Regions from separate parts of the Homo sapiens genome. Here all the other regions are linked to region 1. The links are contacts of gene promoters, found by promoter capture Hi-C in blood cells and fetal thymus (Javierre and others, 2016). All regions are on one chromosome and are shown on one strand. The core of a region is centred on a gene start or on the middle of the fragment in contact, and the rest is flanking DNA. Distances in the headings are between cores, read along the strand shown. Region 1 holds the start of PPP4R1 (protein phosphatase 4 regulatory subunit 1). Region 2 overlaps RAB31 (RAB31, member RAS oncogene family). Region 3 overlaps LOC124904244 (a long non-coding RNA gene). Region 4 overlaps RAB31 (RAB31, member RAS oncogene family).

What was found. Contacts are between HindIII fragments. The CHiCAGO score rates a contact against its expected background, and 5 or more counts as called.
Region 2: a contact is called between a fragment that was not itself captured here and the fragment with the promoter of PPP4R1 in region 1, in 1 of 17 cell types (neutrophils). The highest score is 7.6, in neutrophils.
Region 3: a fragment that was not itself captured here is called in contact with the fragment with the promoter of PPP4R1 in region 1 in 1 of 17 cell types (neutrophils); the score reaches 6.5 in neutrophils.
Region 4: a contact is called between a fragment that was not itself captured here and the fragment with the promoter of PPP4R1 in region 1, in 1 of 17 cell types (neutrophils). The highest score is 11.0, in neutrophils.

The regions. Positions count from the first base shown.
Region 1 is chr18:9,612,513-9,615,808 of GRCh38, forward strand. PPP4R1 (protein phosphatase 4 regulatory subunit 1) reads right to left here and starts at 2,047. Exons shown (of 20, transcript NM_001042388.3): 1 at 1,966-2,047; 2 at 1,714-1,758. The coding sequence starts at 1,972. It overlaps PPP4R1-AS1 (PPP4R1 antisense RNA 1), which reads left to right and starts at 2,295. Exons shown (of 3, transcript NR_110773.1): 1 at 2,295-2,502. RefSeq lists an enhancer at 1,164-1,243 and silencers at 1,514-1,763, 1,864-2,133, 2,234-2,743. The HindIII fragment of the contact is 7,461 bases long and covers 1-3,296 here.
Region 2 is chr18:9,738,571-9,742,100 of GRCh38, forward strand. The region is part of intron 1 of RAB31 (RAB31, member RAS oncogene family); the gene reads left to right. Among named protein-coding and RNA genes, the nearest start is that of RAB31, 32 kb to the left of the region's middle. The HindIII fragment of the contact is 6,224 bases long and covers 1-3,530 here.
Region 3 is chr18:9,693,443-9,696,950 of GRCh38, forward strand. The region is part of intron 1 of LOC124904244 (a long non-coding RNA gene); the gene reads right to left. Among named protein-coding and RNA genes, the nearest start is that of RAB31, 13 kb to the right of the region's middle. The HindIII fragment of the contact is 9,250 bases long and covers 1-3,508 here.
Region 4 is chr18:9,710,338-9,713,654 of GRCh38, forward strand. The region is part of intron 1 of RAB31 (RAB31, member RAS oncogene family); the gene reads left to right. All of the region lies in intron 1 of LOC105371981 (a long non-coding RNA gene), which reads left to right. Among named protein-coding and RNA genes, the nearest start is that of RAB31, 3.7 kb to the left of the region's middle. The HindIII fragment of the contact is 369 bases long and covers 1,798-2,166 here.

The DNA of each region.
Region 1 (3,296 bases), core at 797-3,296:
CACTGTGCTTCTTGGGGGCTAAGGAAGAAACTGAGACTGCATTTCATCCTTCAGGAGTGAGAAGTTTTTGCTCCAGTCATAAATACTTGCTGAATAAATGAATCTTCTATTTACGAAGTCGAACATAAATATAAAAAGCCCTCCTCGAGGTAACATAATCAGGGCCATTTCTCCAATCCTAACCTGGCAAGAGATCTGAAATCAACAGATGCCTTAAATAATATCTCAAACTTACTATTAGGCAGATAAGTGGCTTAAGGTAAACATTAAATAAAATGTTAAAGCTGCCCTTCACTACATGAGTACTGCTCCCTTTAAGAGAGCTGTTTTGAGCCACCTCACTAAAAACACAGACTTAGCAAAAGTTTGGATGTGGTTCATTTACTTTAAAGATAAATTACTCGTTTCAGATAATCCATCTAAATAGTAAATCCCCCTTACTTTACTCAAAACAACCAGGAATCTAAAAATTAAGTTTACTCTGAGTAAGGGAACCACATTAGACAATGCTAAGGATTAACTACAGAGTATTTAAAAGAGTAATTTCAAACTGCAGCCATCTCTGAAATTACTTATACAGGTACTAGACAGTCAATCTCAGCATCCGGTAGGCTTTCCACTAAACAGACCACAATCCTACTATGGTTATCATCTCAACTCAGAACAATTTCTTGGTCCCTTATGTATCCCATGATCTTCGCTTATATATTTTGCACACTCTGCATTTTTAAAATGCATCTCAAAACCTATTGATTTTTTGATGGGTCGCTATTTTGGAAGATTAGCAAGAATAGAAACTATTTTAAGTTAACTGCAATTTGTCACTTCTTTCAATACAAACCTGCTTAACTCTTTTGTCTTTTCTATCGTGACCCAAATTATTTTCTGAGGCTTAGAAAAGTACATATAAGACGAAAAATTCCTTTCTAAATATCAATTCCGTCGCCATCAGGAAATGTCAGAAACTTTGTCTTTTTAAAAATAAAAGCGTCAACTCTTTAAAAACTTCAGTACCTCAAAGGAAAGCTGCACTGTTAACACTGAAGGAGGGCTGGGTGATTTCTGAACATCCGCATTAAAGAAATATGCTCTCCAAACCTAGTAATTCCTGCGGAGGCCACACCTTCTAACCTTCTCGTAATCCACTAATCAAATCGGGAGCATCTGAAAACTGCTACCAGCCAAAGTAAAATGACAGGTATGTCATCCTCAAACAATCCAAAACCGGGTCGGGGAGCCCAGACGGCTAGCCGGGGCCCAGGCTGACCCCCGGGCGCTCCTGGAAGAGCGACTCTAAGGAAACACACCTCCCGCGCGAGCCTCTTCCTTCCTAGAGTGACGGGGGAAGGGGACACCAGGGGCAGAAACACACCCAAACCCCACTTCAAATCCTGCCCCACCGCTTCTCCTTCCAAAACAGCCGCGCCACTGCTGAGCCCGCAGGCGATTCGGGGGCGCCGGGAGAAGAGAGCGAAGGGCGGAAAGCGAACTTGGGCGTTACTCCGGGCGTCTCCCTCCCCCAGCGGAACCTGGGCGCGCCGTTTCCTCACGGACGCGAGATTTTCCCCCCCGATCGCCACCCCAGCCCGCCTGGGGCCGCCCTCGCCCACCGTCCCCTCAGCCAGCCAGGGCCCGGCCCAGGCCTCGCCGCCGCCCGCCCTCCCCGGCCGCTCCCCGCGGACTGCCAGGCCACCGCGAGGCCGGGCCACTCACATCCGTCTGCGTCCTCCTGCAGGTCCTCCTGAAGCAGCGAGAGGTCTGCGCCGAGGGGAGAGAAGAAAGGCCCGGTCAGCGCCCCGGGGCCCGGCGCGACGCCCCCCCCCCGCCCGCCTCCCCCCCGCCCCGGGGGCGCCTTCCCGCGCCGGGACCCCACGCCGGCCCCGGCCCGGCAGCCACTCAGGGCTGCGGCGGAGGGCGGGTGGGCTCGAGGAGCCGCCGCCGCCCGGAGAACAGGGGGCCACGTACCCGCCATCTTGTGGTCGCCCCCTCCTCCGCGGCCGCCCGGGGAGCCGGGGCTACATGGAGCGGCGCGAGCCGGGGAGCCGGTGGACGCGCGCGGGAGGGGCGGCGGGGAGGAGGAGGGCCGGGCTGGCGGGGGCGCGCGCGCGGGGCGGGCCGAGGGCCCGGGCCTGCCGCGGGCGGCGCGGCTCCCGGCCGCCCGGGCCCCCGGCCGCGCCCCGCCCCGCCCCGCCTGCCCCTCCGCGCGGCTCCCGGGCGACCGGCGCTCCCGCCTCCCGCCTTTCCCGCTGCTTGCCGGGTCCCGGCCCGGCGACGCGCGCTCACACCCTCCTCCCGAGCCGCCCTCACGCCGAGCGCTGCGGACGGGGGCGCGCAACCTGCCGCCGGCCGGGACCCTGCGGCGAGTGCCGGAACCCGGCCGGGCGGGGCCTCCCGCGGCCCGGCCGCTTTATTGGGTCACCGGCCTCGCCCACCGCCCTGCCAGCCGCAGCCATCTCGGCGGGCGCGCCGCTCGCAGCCAGCGCCCCATCCCCAGGCCTGCACGTACGTCGTCGGCGATCCGGGGCCGGGGGCGGCTCCGAGGTCGTCGGGGCCGGGGTCCCACCTCCTCTTGGAGGAAGCGCCGCCTCCCCACCCGCCCGGGGCCCTCGCCAAGTGGCTGCTAACAAAGCCCAGGGCCCGGCTGCGGGATGGTTGACTGACAAAGTCATGCCTGCCTAGCCAGCTTCCTCGTGCAGCACGGTGAAGGCTGGGGCGCCGGGTTTTTACTCCCACGTCCTGCCAACTCGAGCTGACAAGGCGGGCAATCCACCAGCGGGAGCGTTGGCAGGCCCGGGGTCAGATCCTGATTCAGCCAGTTAATTGGTAGGAGTGGGGCCCATTTGTAGAATGAAGGTGATAACTGCCTCGTGGGGTTATTGGCATTAAATGAAGAATGTAGGGAACCTAGCATGGTTCTTGATGTCTAGGAGGTGCTCGGTGAAGGGTGCCTATGATTCGCTTTGTCTTCTAAATACTTTTGGCAGCACTTGAGGTGTTAAAGTCTGTATCCCAGACTTTATTAGTCTTGTTGTTTTACGTGACTTAAGCGATTAGCTCAAACGCCCAAGTACAAAATGGGGCTAAACCCAGGTTTTCCGACACGATTCTACCTCCATGGCTCTATCTCCAGCTCCACCCAAGGCCTCCAAAATGGTGTTCTCCTAAAGTGACCAACAAAACACCAAGCTGTGTCATGGTGCCACTTTGGCGATGTGGTCTCTTAGGAGAGGGAATTCTAAGTAGTTAATTAGCTTGTTCCTTTCTACGTTGTAGTCTTGACCAAGGACAATGTGTTG
Region 2 (3,530 bases), core at 175-2,674, 130 kb after region 1:
CACACTGGGGAGGGCATGGAAGTCCCACACCCCTTCCCACATGCCTTGCCCTACAAGTCTCTTCATCTGCATCCTGTGTAACATCCTTTATAATAAACTGGTGAATGTCAGTAAGTGTTTCCCGGGGTTCTGTGAGCCACTCTAGCAAATTAATCAAACCTGAGGAAGTGGTCATGGGAACCCTGATTTGCAGCCCATCAATCAGAAGCACAGGACACCTTCCTCCTTGTGCTAGGCCTCTGGAGTAGGAGGAGGCAGCCTTGTAGGACTCAGCCTCCCGCTGTGGGATCTGACATTATCTCCAGGTAGGTAGCTTCACAATTGAGTTGAACTAGAGAACACTCAGAGAACTAGAGAACGCTGGTGTCCGCTGAAGAATCAGTGGCTTGCTTGGTGTGTGGGGAAAACCTCCTGTACATTTGGTCACAGAAGCATTTTGTGTTGTGAGAGTAGACTAGGAGAAAAAACATTTTGTTTTTCTACTCAGGTGGCATGTTCCAAATAAAAACACTGGAAAGAATATGAGTTTAAAGAAATGGATTGTAATGCATGATATAGTTGCATACTATATAAATACATCTCGTAAATTTGGATTTCATTGCCTTAGAATTTCTAAGAATTTGGCCAGGCACGGTGGCTTACGCCCGTAATCCCAGCACTTTGGGAGGCCAAGGCAGGCGGATCATGAGGTCAGGAGATCGAGACCATCCTGACTAACACGGTGAAACTCCGTCTCTACTAAAAATAAAAAATTAGCTGGGTGTGGTGGCGAGCACCTGTAGTCCCAGCTACTCAGGAGGCTGAGGCAGGAGAATGGCGTGAACCTGGGAGGCAGAGCTTGCAGTGGGCCGAGATTGTGCCACTGCACTCCAGTCTTGGCAACAGAGGGAGACTCTGTCTCAAAAAAAAGAATTTGTAAGAATTCAGACTCAGGGTGCAGGATGAATTTACTGCTTAGGAAGATGTAATGTGCTAAAAAAAAAAAAAAAGTAAACAAACTATCTGGATGATTCTTAGCCTATGGAGAGTAAAGCACAGGTTTTTAAGTTTCTTAGATACACTGTATTGATGAGGATACAGACTAAGCTGCTGAAACAGGAGATCCCAGATTATAGTGACTTCAGCTTTTTCAGTCCTCCTGGTGGCTGGTTCAGGGCTTGTTTGGTGGCTTGTGGGGTCATCACATTGTATACTCTCCTGTCCTGTGTGCCAGCACCTGGTCACATGGCCACCCCTGACTGCAAGGAAGATGGGAAAATGTCATCGTTAGCTGGGTAACCAGGGGCCCAGCTAAAACTCAGGGTTCTTTTTCTAATAGTTGAAAGGGAGAGTGAGTATCACAGAGCCCCAGCAGTTTCTCTCCTAAGCATCTTTTATTTTCCAATGAGGACACTGCCAGGCCAGTTGTGTCTTCCTTGGCTAGAGCTTTGATCTGCAAACTTGGAGCTGATTCTGACCTCAGACCCTGGGGTGACGAGAGGAGCTCTATGATTCTAGTTAGACCAGCCTAATGGATGAATCCTGACTCCCTCACTTGCTGTTTGTGTGGCCTTCAGTTCGGCTGTTGAGCCTCTCTGACATTCCGATTCACTGGTAATGATAACTGTCTCACAAAGTCATTGTAACAAGTATTTTGAGAACATCCAGGATAATGCCAGTCATATGATGAGTTTTCAGTAAAAGTTCCTTTGTTCCTTCCTCTATAGGATGAATCATAGAAATCATCTACTTACCTAACGCTTCCAGTGAAACAAGTTAATTTGCTCAGAGCCTGATTTAATTTGCATTATTGCATCAGGATGACACCTCTTTACAGTAAAGTTATTTATACTTCTCCAAATGCAAAATTTAAAATTATTTTGGCTGGACGTGGTGGCTCTCGCCTGTAATCCCAGCACTTTGGGAGGCCGAGGAAGGTGGATCACTTGAGGTCAGGAGTTCGAGACCAGCCTGGCAACATGGTGAAACCCTGTCTCTACTAAAAATGCAAAAATTAGCTGGGCGTGGTGGCGCACACCTGTAATCCCAGCTACTCAGGAGGCTGAGGCAGGAGAATTGCTTGAATCTGGGAGGTGGAGGTTGCAGTGAGCCAAGATTGCACCACTGCACTCCAGCCTGGGCAACAGAGTAAGACTCTGTCTCAAAAAAAAAAATTCTTTTGGTGGGTTAATGTTACCCAGAAGCAGATCATACTGTGCTCACACATCTTCTGTCCACATCATACCAATGCTAGAATAAAGGGGGTAAACAGAAAAACAGGTTTTCTTGGGAAATGACATATGGAAGTTGCTGCACAGGGGTCTCTAATGGCAGAGGTGCCTCCAGGGGGCTTTGATATGTCAGCAGTAGCAGCGCACACTGCAATGCCTTCCTTGCTTGTAGTAAGTGGCCTCTGGGTTCTTAAAACAAGACCCTATTGTGTAAGATGCTGGACTTGGGAAAACCCCTGGCAGGGGCTGCATTGAGGCTGGTGACTCCTGTTGGGGCATTGTGTGCTGCATAGTGTAATAGGCAGCCACTCTAGGCCCAGCATGGTGGCTCACGCCTGTAATCCCAGCACTTTGGAAGGCCGAGGTGGGCGGATCACTTGAGGTCAGGAGTTCGAGACCAGCCCGGCCAACATGGTGAAACTCCGTCTCCACTAAAAGCACAAAAATTAGCCAGGTGTGGTGGCGGGCACCTATAATCCCAGCTACTAGGGAGGCTGAGGCAGGAGAATTGCTTGAACCTGGTGGGGCAGAGGTTGCAGTGAGCCGAGATAACGCTACTGCACTCCAGCCTGGGCAACAGAGTAAAACTCCGTCTCAAAAAAAAAAAAAAAAAAAAAAAAAAAGGCAGCTGCTCTGGGCACCCCTGGATTGTGGCAAACTTCAGAATTGGGTGTCAGTGCTAAGTGACCAAGACAATACCACCGTGGATGGATCACAAGGGCTGGAGTTGCAGAGTCAGAGCTGATGGAGCTTTCCTGCCAGCCACGCACCATCTGTCCAGTGGGAAGTCCTTTCTGTGCTGGGAGGAAGGGGCCAGCAGGACCACTTGTCCTGCGCCAGTGCCAGCCTCTCTCAGCCTGTGTGCAGCACGTACATGTCCATGGCAGCCCTCGGCTGGATCTCAGGGCTGTGGGCAGGGGTGGAGGCCACTGCTAGGCTGTCCTGCTGCTCCAGCAGCCCCCTCAGGGGCCGTTGACTTTTCACAGGAACCCAGGCCTGCCATTGAGGGTGGAGATTTCATTTGGAAATGCTCGCCTCACTTCCCATGCGGTTCCTCTGTCTGCTTTATGAGCGGGACATACCCCTCATCCACTGCCTCATCCAGGTTTCCTGGTGTGGCAGGGTCCCCAGGGACCCAGAGGGAGCCAGGAAATGTGAGTCAGTGGCTTCCCAAAGTGGCTGCCTGGCCTGTGGTGTCATAGGGCTGCTGCTGTCTGCCCTTTGTCCTGTCTCACGCTGTCCCCAGCCCTCCCAGCACTGGCCGTTGAGAAGACAGAGTTGAGTTGACTGTCACTGTTGTCTTGGGGAAGACCACCCGGC
Region 3 (3,508 bases), core at 754-3,253, 81 kb after region 1:
GGTGGCAAATGTGATCAATTGGTGAATGTAAGTGAAGGGTATCTGAATGATTTGTTCTATTTTTTCCATTCCTCTGTAGCTTTGAAAAATTTCAAAATAAAAAGTTGGGGCAAAACTACAAGGTGACTTCTGGTATAATACTGCCAATACTACCAATCTCCTTTCTGGCAGCAGCCGCCTGGCTAGAACATTAGAGTGGGTCCAGAGAGCCTCTAGAGAGAGACCATATTGCTTTTCCCTGCTTGTTCACATAAAGTTTTAAGACAGACTGTAAAGTTTGTTGGAAATAAGTTCAGTCCTACAGTCCAGAATCCAGAGTTGGAAAGGGGCTTAAAGTCATATAGTTCAGTAGTTGCAGACTCTTGGATTTTACACACTAATATAAGTTAAAAAGATATGTATGTATACACACACACAGAACAAAATAAAACAAAAAATGAAGGGGCTGACCTCAAGTTGCTAATCCACTTTGTCTAGTAATGACTGACATAAAAATTTAAAAAACCCATCTATCATTCTGTTTTCATACTTATGTCATTAAAAATGTCATTTTTACCACAAAAAGGCAATCTATTATTCTCAGAGTTAAGTTTTTAAAAAATTGGCCGCATTCAGCCCTGCGAACACACACCTTGTCCTTCTTCCCTTCCTTCTTTCCTTCCTTTATTGACAAATAAAAACTATATAGTTATGGTGTACAACATGATGTTTTGATATATGTATACATTGTGGAATGGTGAAATCAAGCTAATATATCCTTCACTTTATATGCCTATTGTTTTTTTTGGGTGAGACTATTTAAGATCTATTCCAAGCAGTGTTTAAGCATAAGATCCATTGCTGTTAACTATGTAGTCAGCACATTGCCCAGCAGGTCTCTAGCTCACTCGTGGGTCAGGCTGGACAGGAAAGGGGTGGCAGGCTGCTGAGTCGCCACATAGGTTCTGGGGAGCAATTCCTCCTATGGAGGTCATGTGGCTGACGTCCTGACAGGTGGCAAGTCGGCCCCTAGAGGAGGAGGACAGCTAACTCCTTTCCCCAGAAGCTCTTTCACCTGGACATCTCTGTCAAGACTGAGTCAGCCGGGCATGGTGGTTCACACCTGTAATCACAGAACTTTGGGAGGCTGAGGTGGGAGGATCACTTGAGGTCAGGAGTTCAAAATCAGCCTGGCCAACATGGTGAAACCCTGTCTTTACTAAAAATATAAAAAAATTAGTGGGGCGTGGTGGTGGGCACCTATAATCCCAGCTACTCGGGAGGCTGAGGCAGGAGAATTGCTTGAACCTGAATGGTGGAGGTTGCAGTGAGCTGAGATTGTGCCACTGCACTCCAGCCTGGGCGATAAAGTGAGATTGTCTCAAAAAAAGAGAGAGAGAGAGAGTGAGCCACTCCTTTAGATGAGTTGGGATGGGTTGCTCTGCTGCATCCACACTTTGTTAGTTAATCTGCCATGTGGAGCTTCTCAGAATTTCGAGGCACTTCAATTTTGCTCCCCAAGTAAGGTCAGGTATGAATACGAAAAGAAGTAATCCAGGAGCTGATCCTTCTATTCTTTGATGAGTATGCTTGCACTATTTGAAGGTTGCTGTTATGCTTTCCTTAATCCTCTCCAGATGGAACATACCAGTCTTTCAAAGATTCTTCTTAGTCTGGTGACAGGTGATGTGTTACATATTTCTTGGTCAGCCACAAGGTGCCAGGACTAGCATGGTGCTAGGTTACCTGTGGGGCCCTGTGGTGTCTCCACGGCATTGCAGTGACATGCTCAGTGAAGGGGACCTGTTAGGCATTTCATGAGTGGCTCAGAGATCCTCAGTGAGGGGATGTGGCTGTCTTCATGAGAGGCACCAATGACAGCCGTGTCCTCAGACTCTTGCTCCCACAGGGTCACACATCTGTGTCTCTCTCTGCACTTTGGCTCCAGGCCCTCTCTCACCTCATGCCTGAGACCCACCCCACAGCACCTGAGTCTACATCACCTTAGTTCCAGTTGCACATAGAAGCCAAGTGGACCCTCAGGACCTCAGGTCCAAATTCCTGCAAGAGAATTTCACTGGTGTGCCTTGGATCAGACATTTACCCATGCCTACCTGTGGCCAAGCAGTTGGGGTAGTAGTAAAGCAGTATCTGCCAGGTCTCCTGCCCCACCCTCCCCCTTTTTTTTTTTTTTAGAAGGAGCATTCTTCGGAGGAAAGAGTTTTTCTGAACTGGGCAGAGTCTTCATGAAAGCATCTGCTATAAGATTCTTTAACTTATGACTCTGTAAATATAGAAAAAGGAATAAATAGGAAAAATTGGACTCACTTTGGAATGGTACACTCAGTGTGTCAAACAATTAAACAGAAACACCACACACAGTCTGTGGCTGGCCCCGACGGCGGCTGGGAGGATGACAACTGTCCCGCCCTTCCTGCTAAGCCTGTCTTTCCTTTTGCTTAATCTCTGGTGGGGTCCAACATGCTGATCTCTGCTGGAATGGGCCCAGGCATTAGGATTAAAGCAAATTTCAGGGATTTCCATAGACACTTTATCTGTTAATTCTCAAAAGGCACTCAACAGTTGTCTCCTTAGTTCTAGTTGGCGCGTGTGTGAGTTACGTCGCAAGGCTGGAAGGCAGGAGGTTTGCATGCTTTCAGAATGCCCTGCGTGTGCATGTGGCAGGTCCTCATTATTCCTGTTAGTCCAAACTGCACCATTTTGTAAGCTCCCTGCTATTTTGCAGACCTTGGTCAAAGTGAAACATTTCACAAGGGTTTGGGCCACAAGAAACATCCTGCCTAACCACCTGACCACAAGGCAGACAGGCAAAGACCCAACTAAAGAAACACCCCTATCATATTCTGCTGGGAGAAAGGGCAAGGAACACCACATTCTGCCAGAACAAGGGCCAGAACCGCCTCATCATGGGAACATTTTATCAACATCCTGCCAGGCAGCAAGCCATACTGCCCAGACCCCTTCCACCCATACTTATAAGTATCCCCGGCCTGTAAGCAGTGGTGGGCTCTGGTGTTAAGCTGGTCCCCACTTCTGCAGGTGTCTGTTTAAGCTGCCCTCTCCCTCTGTGTGTGTCTTTCTTTCACCCTCGCCTTCCCTTCAAAACCTGACAGTCCCGGTGGTGGGCCTTCTCTGTTTGTGCTGTGTTTTCTCTTTTTCTCTGACCTTCTCTGAGCTACGGCTCTGAGACAGTTTACAACAGGCACCTGCCTCAACCTCCCAAAATGCTGGGATTACAGATGTAAGCTACCGCTCCTGGCCTAGAAATGACATTTTCATACCCCCAAGTAGGAAAGTAATACTCTCAGAATAATATAATTGGATACATTTCCTGCCAAGAAAAGTTTATCACATTACTTGTCCCCCCTCTCATTTTGCTGCAGATTGGTGGCAGTTTGTCACGGGCAACTTGGGAGCCATGTTTTAGGCATGATGTGCAATGGGAGATAGGAGAAGGGCCAGGCCTGCCCTCCATGAGCTCATCCCCAGGATTTCAGCTGGAGGCAAC
Region 4 (3,317 bases), core at 732-3,231, 98 kb after region 1:
CTATGAGTTCAGGGTGCCAATTAGCAAACCTGGGAGAGGAGGAAGCTGGAGGAAATCTCTTTACTTCTTTTATCTCCAAGAAAGATACACACTCTTTGAGTGGCTTCCTGCAGACAGTGCCTTACCTTTGCCAGTTCTGTGTGTAGGAATTTGAACTTGGAGTTGGAAGAACCATGCCAAAGCAGAGAAAGAAGAGGTTTCTGGGCAGACGGAGGCTTTGAAACATCAATCGTGGCCGGTCGCGTTGGCTCACACCTGTCATCCCAGCACTTTGGGAGGCTGAGGCGGGGGGATCATTTGAGGTCAGGAGTTCAAGACCAGCCTGGCCAACATGGTCAAACCCCGTCTCTATTAAAAATACAAAAAAAAGTTAGCTGGGCGGTAGCGGCGCATGCTTGTAATCCCAGCTACTCGGGAGGCTGAGGCAGGAGAATCGCTTGAGCCTGGGAGGTGGAGGTTGCAGTGAGCCGAAATCACGCCACTGCACTCCAGTCCGGGCGACAGAGTGAGACTCTATCTCAAAGAAAAGAAAACAAAAGAAAAGAAACATCAGTCATATCACACCACATTTGTGGCTTCCTTTTTTTTTTTTTGAGGGTGGCTGTAAGTTTCAGTTTTATTGAAATCAGAGGACATTTTATTTGAAAGACCAAATGACCTTGTTGTCCACACTGAGTAAGATTTGCCACATCCCCTCGTTTGGCTGGCTCTTTCCTGGGTGAGATGTGTGCAGCAGGCTGTGTTTCTAGCTGCTCATCCAATTAGGCTGATTCTCTGGGTGGGATAACATTGAGGGAGATCAAAACCATTTGACTGTCTTCGGTTTACTCTCTTCTCTCTCTCTCTCTCTCCTCTTTTTTGTTTTGAGACAAGGTCACATTCTGTCATCCAGGCTGGAGTGCAGTGGTGCCATCATAGCTCACTGCACCCTCCAACTCCTGGGCTCAGTGGATCCTTCTGCATCAGCCTAGGTTTATTCTCTTGATTCGAGAGACCCTGTGGATCAGTCAGTGCTAAGTCCAAAAGTCCTTTAAAAAATATATGTATATTTTTGAGATAGGGTCTCACTCTGTCACCCAGGCTGGAGTGCAATGGTGCCATCCTGGCTCACTGCAGCCTCAGCCTCCCAAGCTCAGGTGATCCTCCCACCTCAGCCTGCCAAGTAGCTGGGACCACAGGTGTGTACCACCCAGCCCAGCTAATACTTTTTATTATTTTTGTAGAGATGGGGTCTCCCTATGTTGCCCAGGCTCTTTCAACATTTTAACAGGAACCTTGGGCTCATTTGTGCTTTGCGTAGGGAGGTCTGTCTTTTCTGGGTGAAGTTTTGTGTGTGGCTGGCATTCAGCTTCCTGTTTTTTAGCCATGAGACACCTCCCTGAAGTCTTGCTATGACCAAGACCCTGACAGCCACACCTTCTTTCTGCCTGTTAGAATCACTTTCTGTCGGGTTTCCCTTATAAGGTGATAGAGAACATAGACTTCATAACAAAATATCACTCTCACTGGGAAGGCTGAGGGGTTGGTCTTTTTGTGCCTGGTACTGTGCTCAGTGGGGACTTGGGGACATGCTTCGCATTTAAGGTATAGGTTGTTTTAGGCATGGGCAGTAGGCGCTTTCAGCACAGGCTCCCTGCTGGTCACTCTTTGCTGTAGTTTCCTGCTCCATCCATGGGGTCGGAGGTCTTACCTCCTGACGTTAGAGTCATTTGCAGCAGGTGGGAGTGAAAGTGGGCCGGGTGCCAGGTCTTCTTTACCTGAACCTCTCCTGTCTTCCTGGCACATTAGGAATGTCCAAGCTTATTTCTATTGGTGAATGCTCCCACATGGGATGGATAATGGCCTGTGGAACATTCTCTGAATGCTTTGTGTTCTTGGAAAACCAAGGACTGAAGAGCGTTGGGTTTGTTTAGGTTACCTGTTATAAATTCTTGGCTCACATTTCATGTGTGGACTTTCTTGGGTTTATTCCACATGGGGACAGCCCAGCAAGCCTTTGTGAACGCCCTTTCCTGGCCTGAGCCGAGTCACCTGTGGAAGTCAGCCGTGCAGGAGGGTGTGCTTGATAGGGGGAAGCACCCTGGGCAGGACCCCATGAGTTTCCTTCTTACCAGGAAAGTGTCATTCGTCCCACTTTGTGATCTGAACTGGTATTATGAAACATGAAGCTTAAAGGCAACAAAGTATGTTAACAACAACAACAAAAAATACTTAACAAAAACAACACTGAGGCAGCAGCTGCTTCAACCCCAAAGGTGGAAAAGTTTCCCAGTATGCATTTTTAACACACATCACCATGTGGCAAGAAGCAGGAGGAAGGGAGAGAGTGGGGAGGAGGAGAAAGAGAAGGAGGGGACCTTTGTTTTGTTATCTCCTTGGGGTATTTGTGTGCGTGCACTTAAAAACTGCGTGCACTTAAAAACTGCTTCCTGATGGAATCCCAAAGAGATTTATATTTGGACTTTGGTTGTCTTGACAACAATTTAGAAATTCCTACCACTTCCTCAATAGCTGAGTGATCAGTTAAAAGAGCCGATGGCTTCCCTGCTTCTGGTAAGGAGCTTGTTGAAGCATCTTGTGATCTTTGTTGGAATGTATATGGTGGCTCATTAAAGAGCAGTCAAATACCTGGGATTTGGTGAGACATCTGGGTAATGGGTACTTCACCTATGTCCAGGGCCTTCGCATGGAAGGCCTCTTGTCTCCCCAGGGACACTAGGACGCAAGAGTAGAACAGATTTATACTCACAGTAAGGCAGATCATCAGAACTGTGCAACCTCACATGAGTTGCTATGAGCACTGTATGACAGAGTATCCAATAAGGTGATAAGAATTTGTTAGTGTTATTGTGGAAGGAAGTAATGCATAGGATAGTGGGTTGGGCTAGGTAATGATCACATTTGCTTTCCAAGTCTGAGATTCTAGTAACTTACTATTTTTTCTCCCGAGACTGGCATTTCTTGGGGAAGGGGGATGGTGGGGAGGGTTGAGTGGCTAGCCACAGCATTTATTTCTTGGCACAACTGATTCCTCTACTAAATTGAACCATTTGTGGAAAGTATGTTCAGCATTGGTGACTCTGGGTACGTTCTATGTTACACGAGAATAAATATGATATAGTGGGCTATCTTCCCAGCAGTGCCTGGCATATGGTAACACTGTGTCTTATGCACCCATCCCAGGCTGATGGAATCCATCAGGGTCCCTTTGTTCCTCCTTTGTTCAGGGTCAGCATTGCTGCTTTCATCCTCCCTCAGCTTTCAGAGCTCAGTGCATCTCTGGAGTGTGTATCAGAATCATTTGAGGAGCATTTTCA